Regions from separate parts of the Homo sapiens genome. Here regions 1, 3 and 4 are each linked to region 2. Evidence: promoter capture Hi-C in 16 types of primary human blood cells and fetal thymus (Javierre and others, 2016). All regions are on one chromosome and are shown on one strand. Each heading gives the region's core, a stretch centred on a gene start or on the middle of the fragment in contact. The rest is flanking DNA. Distances are from core to core; before and after follow the strand shown. Region 1 has its middle 23 kb from the start of HTR4. Region 2 holds the start of SH3TC2 (SH3 domain and tetratricopeptide repeats 2). Region 3 has its middle 76 kb from the start of ADRB2. Region 4 has its middle 64 kb from the start of HTR4.

Region 1 (2,700 bases), core at 3-2,502, 390 kb before region 2:
CAGAGAAACTGAAGGCAGCACCTGAAGTTGGAGAGGCAGGTGGGAAAAAAGCAGGAAAAGAGGGAATTTGAATGTTCCTGGAAATTATGTTGCACCTTCCTGTTGCTGAGACATACTTACGAAAGATTTGGGTTATTTTGAAATAGCTGTAGATTGCTAGACTGTGTTCTTTTGATGAAAACACCATTTCTGGACCAACCATGTGGACTACAGCATTATCATTATCCCTATTGGTTTCAGAGATGCCACTAAGCCACGTGGTCAAGCTTACTCCCTTTCAGACTGGTACATCTCTTCCCCCATAATCCTCACCCCGCACCCTAAGAAAATCTCTTACATGGGACTATTGGATGCATCCCAAAGGTGGCTATTTGACCCCTTTTACTTGGGAAAACCCAGGATGACAAATGTGTGGGAATTTTTTCTTCCACAGTTCACAGTTTTCTTTAGCTGGGCCCATATCCATCCTTCCCACATGGACATAAGCAGTGGACGACTGTGTATTTTACTTTTCTGAAGTTTAATTCCTCTCATTTTTTTTCTTTTGTGTTTTAAATCTCCTTTATGCTTTTGAATTGAAATAGGAAGATAATTGACCTAGATTGCTTTCCACTCTTCCCTCCCCTCTCTCATCTGCTGACTCGGGACAAACTTCAAACACAATTTAGGCACTGTCTCTACAGTTTCTAAAAGCTTTCCTGACCTCTTTCCTTAATTCCATAAAATCTGCGCAAAGCTCATCACCTCACTTATTGCACTGTATTAAAACGATGCATTCATGTGGCCACCTCTCCTTCATGGTAAGCACCGTATCTCCTTCACCTCCTTCTCCATAACACAGCACAGCCTCTGAAATGAAGCCAGTCTTCAGCAAGTGCTTTGATGAACAGTAAATTTTGAAGCAGCTCTTGAAGACTCCCTTGAGGTCCATTTTCTTTTGCTGAAGCCCAAAGAGGTGGGGAATATAGGGAAAGTCCTTCTCTAGGTTCCCATGGGAACTGAAATAAATGCAGCAACAATTAGAGGAGAAATGAATGCACTAAAAATATCATTTTACAAAGTAAAGGAATGTTACTATTTCAAGTGCTCAATTATACCTGCTGCCCTTTCTTTGCCATAGGAGAATGTTTAAAACAGCTTACAAAATTATGGTTCTTTGTTAATTAAAAAGCTTATTCACCAATCCTAATAATACTATATATATATAGATGTATGTGTATGTATATATACAGATATAAAATATCGTCTAGATCTATGATTTTCTTTCTTCCTTTTATTTATTCATTCAGCCAATCTTTACTGCATGCCAACAATAATGTGCTAGACACCATGCTAAGCTTCAGGGACACAACAGTGACTAAAAGAGCCAAGATAGTCTTTCTTCATGGAGTACACAGTCTAACAGGGTAAATAGACAACTTGAAAAGCAAGCAAACAAATAAATATAGTCTTACAAATTGTTCAAGTGACATGCAGGAACTAGCAAGGTGCTATTATGGAGACTAACGGAGGGGTCGTTGGGTTGGGCATCACTCAGTAAGAGGCACCTAATGTTAGACCCAGAGGAAGAGAAGGGACTGGTCTACAAAGAGCTGGAGGTAAACTGTTCCAGCCCAAAGGAAGTGCAGGTGCAACGACTTCAAGAAAAAGGGAATCAGGAGCTTGAAGAATGGAAAGAAGGCTCGTGTGGCTGCAGCAGAGCTGAACAGGAGGAGATTGACTATGTATGACAGAGAAAATTTAGATTTTGCTCAAAGGGCAATGGGAAGTCACTGAAGCATTTTAAGGAGGGATGTGCTATAATCCCATTTCAAAAGATCACTGCAGTTACTCCAAGATAACAGTTTTGGAAGGTGAATAAAAAACGTGAAAGCTAACTATGAGATTTTCAAGCAGTGAAGCAAGAGATGATAATGGTTTAAATAAGGATGGTGGTAGTAGAGACTGGACAATATGAATGTGGCTGAGAAATATTTTGAAAGCAGACACACCAAAATTTATTTGAAAATTTGAATTCTAGAATTCTATGACAGAATAAAAGCAAGCTCAACCCTATTTTATTCTGTGATAAAGTCAGTGTTTCAAATAAAGTTGAACTTGCTTTTTCAAGAAGGTAAAAAATATTGATTTTGAGGAAACTCTGAGAGACCTAAGCAGAACAACTAAAGAGATAGCTGGATGTTCACTTGCTCTCTCCCCTCTCCTTTCCTTTCTCCTTCTTTCCTCCCTCCACCACTTGCTTTCTCTTCTGCACACATCCTTGGGCCCTCCTCATTCTCAGGCAACCTCCACCTTGCTCTGTGGTGGGCTCTGTCTTCATCCTGTCTCTTTCCCATGTTGCCTACCCTTTGCTTATAACTGTCACTATGTATCTGGCTTCTGCCTCTCCTGCAAGCAAAAACAATGACTTTATCATAAAATAATGTCCTTCTATGGATTTCCTTCAACCCACCCTTCCAAACTACTCATGTGTTTATAACTACATGAACCATCCCCTGGGCTAATAAGTTGGGGTCAAACACATACCCTTCTCCACATACTTGCTAAGTCCTTACCAACCTTAGTTGGCCTTTCCCATCTCATTCTTCTCCACTATCTTTTATAATTAAACATAGGATTTCAGCTGCAGTGACATGGAATAGTGAGTGGCTTATTTTTGGACTAGGAAGGCTGCTGGAAAGTCTTTGGTGAATAAAATAA
Region 2 (2,700 bases), core at 181-2,680:
AAGAACCAAGATAAAATCCAGACACTTTGGCCTCAAAGACCAAGTGAGTAGCCAAGATGACAACTGCATAACTAGAGCTAGAGGAAGTCAGATCTAGAACCCCGATCTCCGACCAGTGGTCCTGCACGTCTCCCTCCATGCTGTTTCTACTCTCATGGGGCACAATGACAATAGGACTTAGGGGGAGGGACTGAAAAGTGTTTACATCTGAGAAATCTGGAGAAGCGAAATTGTTCATAGCTAAAGTCGTGCCTTTTGTGCCAAGGGCATCATTTGGGGGGACACTCCCTGCTGTAGGTGCCAAGGTGCCTAGATCAAGACTTCAAGCAGAGGAAGCAGAATATGGTTGTTTTGGGTTCACTTTAATGACCTCAAGTGCCTTCTACAAGCCCAAGTCATAAGACTAAAGAAGAAAGTTGTCTGTCAGAGAGTAGAAAGCCCTCAGCTAGGGGATGCTCCTTAGCTCCTTCTCTCAGGAACCATGGTGGAGCTCCAGGAAGACACAGAGTTCTAACAAGGGTTAGGAATGATTCCTTGGAGCAATGTTCCCCTATCTCCCAAGCAAGCCTCCCCCCACCAATCTAACCCCACATTTCCCCAAAGCCACCACTCATCCTGATAAACACCACACAAGAGAACACAGGGCCCTACCTTGATTCTCCTCTGAAAAAAAGCAAGAAGGTTGCTTCAGGGAGACCAACCAGCCTGGTTGGCCTGGAACTGACATATCCCAGCAAATTCCTCAGTCCCAGGCAAACCATAATGGCTGGTCACCCTAAGTCACTCTCCCATGAGTTGACAATTTCTTAGAGCAACAACTCTCCATTGCCTCAACTTGATGCACACACTCACACATGCACTCACACACAAATCACTCTGTAATAGGTGGAGGCAGGAAACTGCCTGTTTTTCTCCAGTAACAGCAACCCTGACAAAAATAGGCTTGAATGACTAAGGCCAAGTTTATGGCCACCCATAGGCCACAGAGGAACTCACTGCCTGAACTTTCTTCCTGTCCTGGGGGGATCTCGGGAAGAAAGGAAGGAAGGGCTTAGTCACACCCTGGGAGTGGCAGCCAGGAGCAGTGCTGCTCAGCTCCTGACAGAGTAAACTCAAAGGCTCTTTCTTCAGGAAAAAATAGATGCTTCCAGGCTTTGCTCCCTTTTTACAGAGCCAGCATGACAAACACTTACCCAGGGAGGAAGGAGAGGCAGCCAGAAAGCACAATCATCTCCCCATCTTTGGGAGAAAAGTTTCTCCAACCCAGCAGGTCCCTGAGCCTCTACTGGACCATCCACTTTGGCCAAGCCACAGGCCAAGGGCCCCCTGGGAAACTCACCTGGGCCCCGGGTCAGACTCCGCTCCCTGGGGATGCAGAAGCAGCCACCCATGTGTGTACCATCCTACCCTGGCCGAGGCCCTTGGGAACACAGGCCAGAAGAGTGCTGCAAGGGACAGCCTCCCAACGGTGTCCCTCCTCCCGCCTCCTCCCTGGCACACGAGGGACCGAGGCCTGCTCAATGCACAATGCAGCCTTTGATATCCCGGCTACAGCAGGAGGCCCAGGGAGGGTGGGAGGGGCAGCCCAGCCCAGCCTGCAGGCCCACAGCTCCTGCACTGTCAGGCCTGGGGAACAGGGCTCCTCCCTGCCTCTCAGCAGATCGCTTCATGCCTATCAGCCTGCAGCACATTCCTCGCATTCTAGGATTGAGATACACAGTTTGGTTCTTGTGAGGGCAGCCAGGGCTGGGGAGGAGGGCAGAGAACATCCCAGAGATCAAGACTGCTCTTCTTGCTCCCTCCCCGACTGACTTGGCCCACACTGACTGGCCTGCCACCCCTTTACAGTGATCTCCACCCAGTCTCTCTCTGCAAAGGCCTCCCTTGGCTCTCTGATAAAGTTGGAGCTGTGGGTGCAGCATTTCACTTGGACCTAGCAGCATCAATGAGCCAGCTCCTCACTGGGGAACATGCAAACCCCCAGCTGCTGGTGTGCAGGAAAAGAATCCAGGAGATCACCTGATGAAGCCCAGCATTTTACAGGTGAGGGGATGGAGAACCAAATACATCAAAGGATGGGGAGAGGTTGGTCAATAGGTAAAAGGTTAGAGTTACATAGGAGGAGTAAGTTCTAGTGTTCTATTGCACAGTAGGGGGACTACAGTTAATAACGTATTGTATATTTCAACATAGAAGAGAGGATTTTGAATGTTCTCACCACAAAAAAACAATGATGTTTGAGATGATGGATATGATAATTACCTTGATTTGTTCATTACACAATACATAGATATATTGAAACATCACATTCTAGCCCATAAATGTGTAGAATTATTATGTGTCAATTAAAAATAAAACTAAAAGAAAAAATACAGCAAGTCTACAGGTATGCAAGCAAAACTGGTCCCACAAGACTAACCTCTTTCCTGTTTCAGATAGGCAGTGGAGCAGGGGAATCCAGTTGACACTGTGGCTAAATTTCAGAAAACCTCCCATGAGATCTTGCAAAGGAGATGGAGAAAATATGGCTGAATGCCAGCAAGGTAGGACGGAAGCATGACTGCTCTAACAACCAAGCTCAAAGAGCACTGCTCACCCAATGTTTCCTTCATGACTAGAGCAAAGTGGTGAAAGGACCCTGGTGAGAGGCCCAAAGAACAGGAGGTGTGAGCCAAGAGAAGGTCCTGCCAGGCCTATGTT
Region 3 (2,700 bases), core at 55-2,554, 310 kb before region 2:
ATAGGATAATAGAACTAGTAGAAAGAGAAAGGCTTGGTTCAGATGAAATCATTGATTTTCCCATCTTGGAGCAATTACATTTCCTTTTTTATTTTTATTTATTTATATATTTTTCGAGACGGAGTTTCACTCTTGTTGCCCAGGCTGGAGTACAATGGCATGAACTTGGCTCACTGCAACCTCTGCCTCCCCAGTTCAAGCAATTTGCCTGCCTCAGCCTCCCGAGTAGCTGGGATTACAGGCATGCACCACCATATCTGGCTAATTTTGTATTATTAGTAGAGATGGAGTTTCACCATGTTGGCCAGGCTGGTCTTGAACTCCCAACCTCAGGTGATCCACTCACCTCAGCCTCCCAAAGTGCTGAGATTACAGGCGTGAGCCACGGCACTGGGCCTACATTTCCTTTTTTTTTTTTTTTTTTTTTTTTGAGATGGAGTCTTCCTCTGTCGCCCAGGCTGGAGTGCAGTGGTGCAATCTTGGCTCACTGCAAGCTCCGCCTCCCGGGTTCACACCATTCTCCTGCCTCAGCCTCCCGAGTAGCTGGGACTACAGACGCCCACCACCATGCCTGGCTAATTTTTTGTATTTTCAGTAGAGAAGGGGTTTCACCGTGTTAGCCAGGATGGTCTCGATCTCCTGACCTCATGATCCGCCCACCTCGGCCTCCCAAACTGCTGTGATTACAGGCATGAGCCACCGCGCCCAGCCTTTTTTTTTTTTTTTTTTCTGACATTAACTTGAGCTGGGTTTATAGGCGTCTAAAACCGAAGAGTGATTCAAAATGGTTACGGTGTCCATGGCCCCATAACTTCACTTTACTTATGAGTGACATAGCTCTCTAGCTGTTATTTGGCATCACCTTTCTGCATTCGTGTGTGTTGTCGATTGGTAACTTTCCTCCATATTTTGGGGAGAAAAGTGAGAGGGTGGAAATGTTTCCAACTTCTTTTTTTGCCTCTAAAAATTTCTGGCCACTAGCCAGCCAGTGGATTCCACGCTCATGGTTCAAGTGCACACCCCCTTCCTGCCCCAACCCACAGTGGCCAGAATGCGAGGCCAGAGTGCAGAGATGGGGAAAGGCCAATGGGTGATAAGGCACAGGATATAGCCACTTGAGCAGCAGAAGCTTAGAAACGTCAGCTCCCTTAGAAAGAGGCTGTAGGCACAGTAAATCTTTCTATAGCACTAGTGCTTCTCAGTGCAGCCTCAGATATCCACAAATTCTTAGGCATCCTATGATAATGCTACAATTTTGCATTTGAATTTATCATTCAAATGTTTCTCATGCTTGGGTTACCTGCATGACTACCTTATGAGATTTCAGTGTTTGTATTTGTTGTATTTGCAAACAAATTGTATCCAAGTAATAGTACTCAGTTGTCATGAGTTAATGAAGAAAAAGGAGGCAATCTTAATGAAAAAGTGATACACTTGCATCATGTGAAAGTCAGATGACATCATGGATCTTCGTGGGACTAAAGCTTTGCAACAATGCCCACAGAGAAAGTGTGATGAAAGAACTGAGGCTCAAGAGTGAATAGACAAGTCAAACTCCAAAGAACCTCGCTAGACTAGATGTGAGCAGAGAATTCCTTTTAGCCATGTGAGATTATCCATCACAATTAATTTGGCCACTTAAATTTTAGTTGTTTTATAATTTTATTCATAGTACATTTAACTAAAAAGTTATTTTGCTACTTTGGTTATATACAACTATAAAATGAATGATTTATTCCTACTTTTATGTTTGTGTATGTGTAAATAACATTATAATAAAAGGGACATATCAATGATGGGGACTATGAGAAATTTCTTTTTTCTTAAAGGGGCTGGTCAGTGTCTCAGACTTGAAAACCACAGTGGTATAGTGTCTCTCCCAGGACTACCTGCTTTCTTCTGGCTTTCTTCTTGTGGTTTGAACCTTATAATACTCTTCCTCTTTTAAGCCACTTTATTAAGGTAGGATTGACATGCAAAAAGCTACACATATTTAATATGTACAACTTGACGAGTTTGGAGATAAATATAAAGCAAAATTTTTCCCCTCTCCTCTTATATATTATTTGTATGTATGTGTGTGTGTATGTGATAAGCTCACTTCATATAACATCTACCCATTCAGCAAATTTTTAAGTATACTATACAGTATTGTTAACTATAAGCACTATGTCGTGCAGTAAACCTTTAGAACTTATTCATTATGTATCACCAAACCTTTGAAACTTTCAACTAACACCTTCTAATATGTCCTCTCCTCAGTCCCTGGCAACCACCATTCATTGTCTGCTTCTAAGAGTTTGACTATTTTATATTTGTTGTATAAATAGTGTCATGTTGTGTTTGTCATTCTGTGTCTGGCTTATAATACTTAGCATAATATCCTCCAAGTACATCCATATGTTTGCAAATGGCAGGATTTCCTTTCCATTTTAAGGCTGAATAATATCCCATTGTATACATACATCACATTTTCTTTTTTTTACATACATTTTTTATTATACTTTAAGTTCTGGGGTTCATGTGCAGAACGTGCAGGTTTGTTACATAAGTATACATGTGCCATGGTGGTTTGCTGCACCCATCAACCCGTCATCTACATTAGGTATTTCTCCTAATGCTATCCCTCTCCTAGCCCCCCACCCCCCAACAGGCCCCAGTGTGTGATGTTCCCCTCTCTGTGTCCATGTATTCTCACTG
Region 4 (2,700 bases), core at 129-2,628, 340 kb before region 2:
TCCCTGCACAAATCTCATGTCATACTGAAGGAAGGACCTGGTAAGAGGTAACGGGATCATGAGGGCGATTTCCCCCTTGCTGTTCTTGTGATAGTGAGTTCTCAGGAGATCTGATGGTTTAAAAGTATGTGACACTTCCTCCTTCACTCTCTGTCTCTCCTGCTCTGCCATGTGAAGAAGGTGCTTGCTTTCCCTTCACCTTCTGCCTCTCCTGCTCTGCCATGTGAAGAAGGTGCTTGCTTCCCCTTCACCTTCTGCCATGATTGTAAATTTCCCAAGGCCTCCCAGTCATGCTTCCTGTTAAGCCTGCAGAACTATGAGTCAATTAAACCTCTTTTTTTCATAAATTACCCAATCTTAGGTAGTTCTTTATAGCAGTGTGAGAACAGACTAAAACAAATGAAGAGACCTTACTGGAAAAATGGCATCTCCGCAAACTTGAACCGCAATCTTAAGTGAATCAAAGGATACATTGGTTCTGTTTCTGGCTCCCTGAAAACAACATCTGTTAGAGCCAAGAGAAGGCAAAAAGTAGGTGACAGGATCGCAGGATGCTGTATTTTGCTGATGGAAGTAGTTTCTGGGTAAGATCTAAGCCACAAATGCTACATAGTAAGCCACTAAAGGATGGCAGAGAAAAGGTTTTCTAATCCCTGGTGTGAAAAGGATCTCAGCAATTTTGCTTCATTACTTCTGGATGATGGTACAAAATTTAGTGGAGATGAAATGCTTTCATGAACTTAACTCCCTGGTAGTTTCTAAACTTCTTAGCTCCAGAATCACAAAGGGTACAGGAAACGAGCATTGACTGAATACCTGCTAAGCTTCTATCTACTGGGCATTTTTCTTACACTAAACTCAGAAAATTGCCTAGTCTTCTCCTATCCATCTCTTCCCTACACTGCCTCCAACCCCAAATAATCTGTCATTATCTCCCTAAGGCAGAAAGATTTTGAAAATGGCCAATGGCTAGATAGTTGCACAACAAGTATCATTTGTTTTGTTATTGTTGTTGTTGTTGACACAAATTTAGAATCCCACTGTGGCCTTCTGCTTCCCCTGTTGGGGTGCTGTCCTATTTATATTTAACTCATGAAGCAACCCACCTTTAATATGGTACAGAACATATAGTAGCTAACAAAAATCCAACTAGAAGAATAATAGATTAGACAGGGCTCTTGGACAAGGAACACCAGTCCCTTTTGCTTCAGAGTAATTGCAGGTGAACCTGCAGGAAGAAGCCTAGGAAAGTTAGTATTTCCGCTACGCTAATAAAGATTTTAAAAAGTTTTCTCCCTTTGCATCTACTTTTTGTCATTGCTGGGTACCATGTGGCAAATAACGATTTATTAATATTCTTCCAGATAAAATGATCTCTGTACTCTATTAAGTCATCTAGCACCCCAAAAGGCCCATGACCACTGGGGTAGGTGTGTATTTCACTTATTTTTGTAACTTATTATTGACTTAAGGATTATTAAGACATACTGTCAAAAAGTGCTGTGTGGCAAAAGCTGATAATTACCAATTTCATGCCCATTTTCCCTTCCTCCTTCAGAATAGAAACCTAGTTTTGTCAGGGATATCGGTGTGCACTGATACAAAATTACTTTTTTCAGCCTCATTTTAAGATAGCAGTGGCCAGGTAACTAAGTTCTGGATAAGGCTTTCAGGAAGGGTAAGAGGCTCTTTTTTGTTTTTCCATATTTCCTCCCTCTTCCTGCCCGGAATAAAGACTTGATATCTGGAGCTACTTTGTCTGTCTTGCTCCTTGAAGTTGGAAGTCACATGTTAATGACGACAGAATAAAAAGATAGCAGTCTAGGACATAGGTGGTATCCTAGAACCACTTCTACAACTATAGAAAGTCAACCTACAGACTACCTGTATATGAGAAAAAACAAACCTTCATCTTGTTAAACCGTATTGGTTCAAGCTTTCCTTATTAGCCCCCAAATGTATTTCCTAATTGCATCATTCTCTGTGTGGCTAAATAAGAACAGAACAAAAAATATTCAATCAAGGTATGAAAAAAAGAACAAAACATTTAAATTCTATGACTGTCAAGGAAGCGTTCATTAAGTGTGAGGAAGGGATTACTAGGTGGCGGTCATGGGAGAGCTATGATGTCCAAGTTGGCTACAGGAGAAGGGTTTTTATAAAAGAAAACTCTAAGAATCCAAGATATTTTATCTGTGGTTTCAAACACTTCACCCTTTGTGCAATTATAAAACTGCATTATTCATTAACATTGAATTTGTTTAGTCTGTAGGAGAAATGACTGATCATTGTAAAGTGTTTCTGGGATACTTTGGAATCTATTTAATGAAAAATCAAATGAGACAGGATAACAAGTTTAAGTTCATTTGAGTCAACATCAATGCCAGTTACTCCAGAAGCAGGAAAAGAGACCAGCAGAGAGGAAGGTAATAGAAAGCTCTTGGCGCTGCTTTCCAAATTACCTCTAATCCACTAACGGGCTGGAGACATCTTACAAATGCTAATTAATTAAGCCCCCTACCAGTCAAATGATGACTGTAGGAAGACGCCTCTGTGATACAGGTCTGGACTTTAAGAGAACACAGGGGGCTAGTAATGGACATGTAGTTAAGCAGGCAGTTGTTGAAGTCCTGTAAGGTCAGTTAAGGCAGTGAGAAGCACTAACCAAAGAAGAGTACAGAATTGAGAACTTGGAGCAAC

Evidence for each region. Contacts are between HindIII fragments. The CHiCAGO score rates a contact against its expected background, and 5 or more counts as called.
Region 1: a contact is called between a fragment that was not itself captured here and the fragment with the promoter of SH3TC2 in region 2, in 1 of 17 cell types (total B cells). The highest score is 5.9, in total B cells.
Region 3: a contact is called between a fragment that was not itself captured here and the fragment with the promoter of SH3TC2 in region 2, in 2 of 17 cell types (non-activated CD4 T cells and naive CD8 T cells). The highest score is 5.9, in non-activated CD4 T cells.
Region 4: a fragment that was not itself captured here is called in contact with the fragment with the promoter of SH3TC2 in region 2 in 8 of 17 cell types (naive CD8 T cells, total B cells, total CD8 T cells and 5 more); the score reaches 9.0 in naive CD8 T cells.

The regions. Positions count from the first base shown.
Region 1 is chr5:148,676,238-148,678,937 of GRCh38, forward strand. No RefSeq gene overlaps it. Among named protein-coding and RNA genes, the nearest start is that of HTR4, 23 kb to the left of the region's middle. The HindIII fragment of the contact is 166 bases long and covers 1,170-1,335 here.
Region 2 is chr5:149,061,632-149,064,331 of GRCh38, forward strand. It overlaps SH3TC2 (SH3 domain and tetratricopeptide repeats 2), which reads right to left and starts at 1,431. Exons shown (of 17, transcript NM_024577.4): 1 at 1,340-1,431. The coding sequence starts at 1,391. It overlaps MIR584 (microRNA 584), which reads right to left and starts at 778; the gene lies at 682-778. SH3TC2-DT (SH3TC2 divergent transcript) reads left to right here and starts at 1,686. Exons shown (of 3, transcript NR_122044.1): 1 at 1,686-2,043; 2 at 2,619-2,700. RefSeq lists a silencer at 1,395-1,689. The HindIII fragment of the contact is 16,687 bases long and covers 1-2,700 here.
Region 3 is chr5:148,749,752-148,752,451 of GRCh38, forward strand. No RefSeq gene overlaps it. Among named protein-coding and RNA genes, the nearest start is that of ADRB2, 76 kb to the right of the region's middle. The HindIII fragment of the contact is 355 bases long and covers 1,128-1,482 here.
Region 4 is chr5:148,717,306-148,720,005 of GRCh38, forward strand. No RefSeq gene overlaps it. Among named protein-coding and RNA genes, the nearest start is that of HTR4, 64 kb to the left of the region's middle. RefSeq lists an enhancer at 2,218-2,700. The HindIII fragment of the contact is 1,112 bases long and covers 823-1,934 here.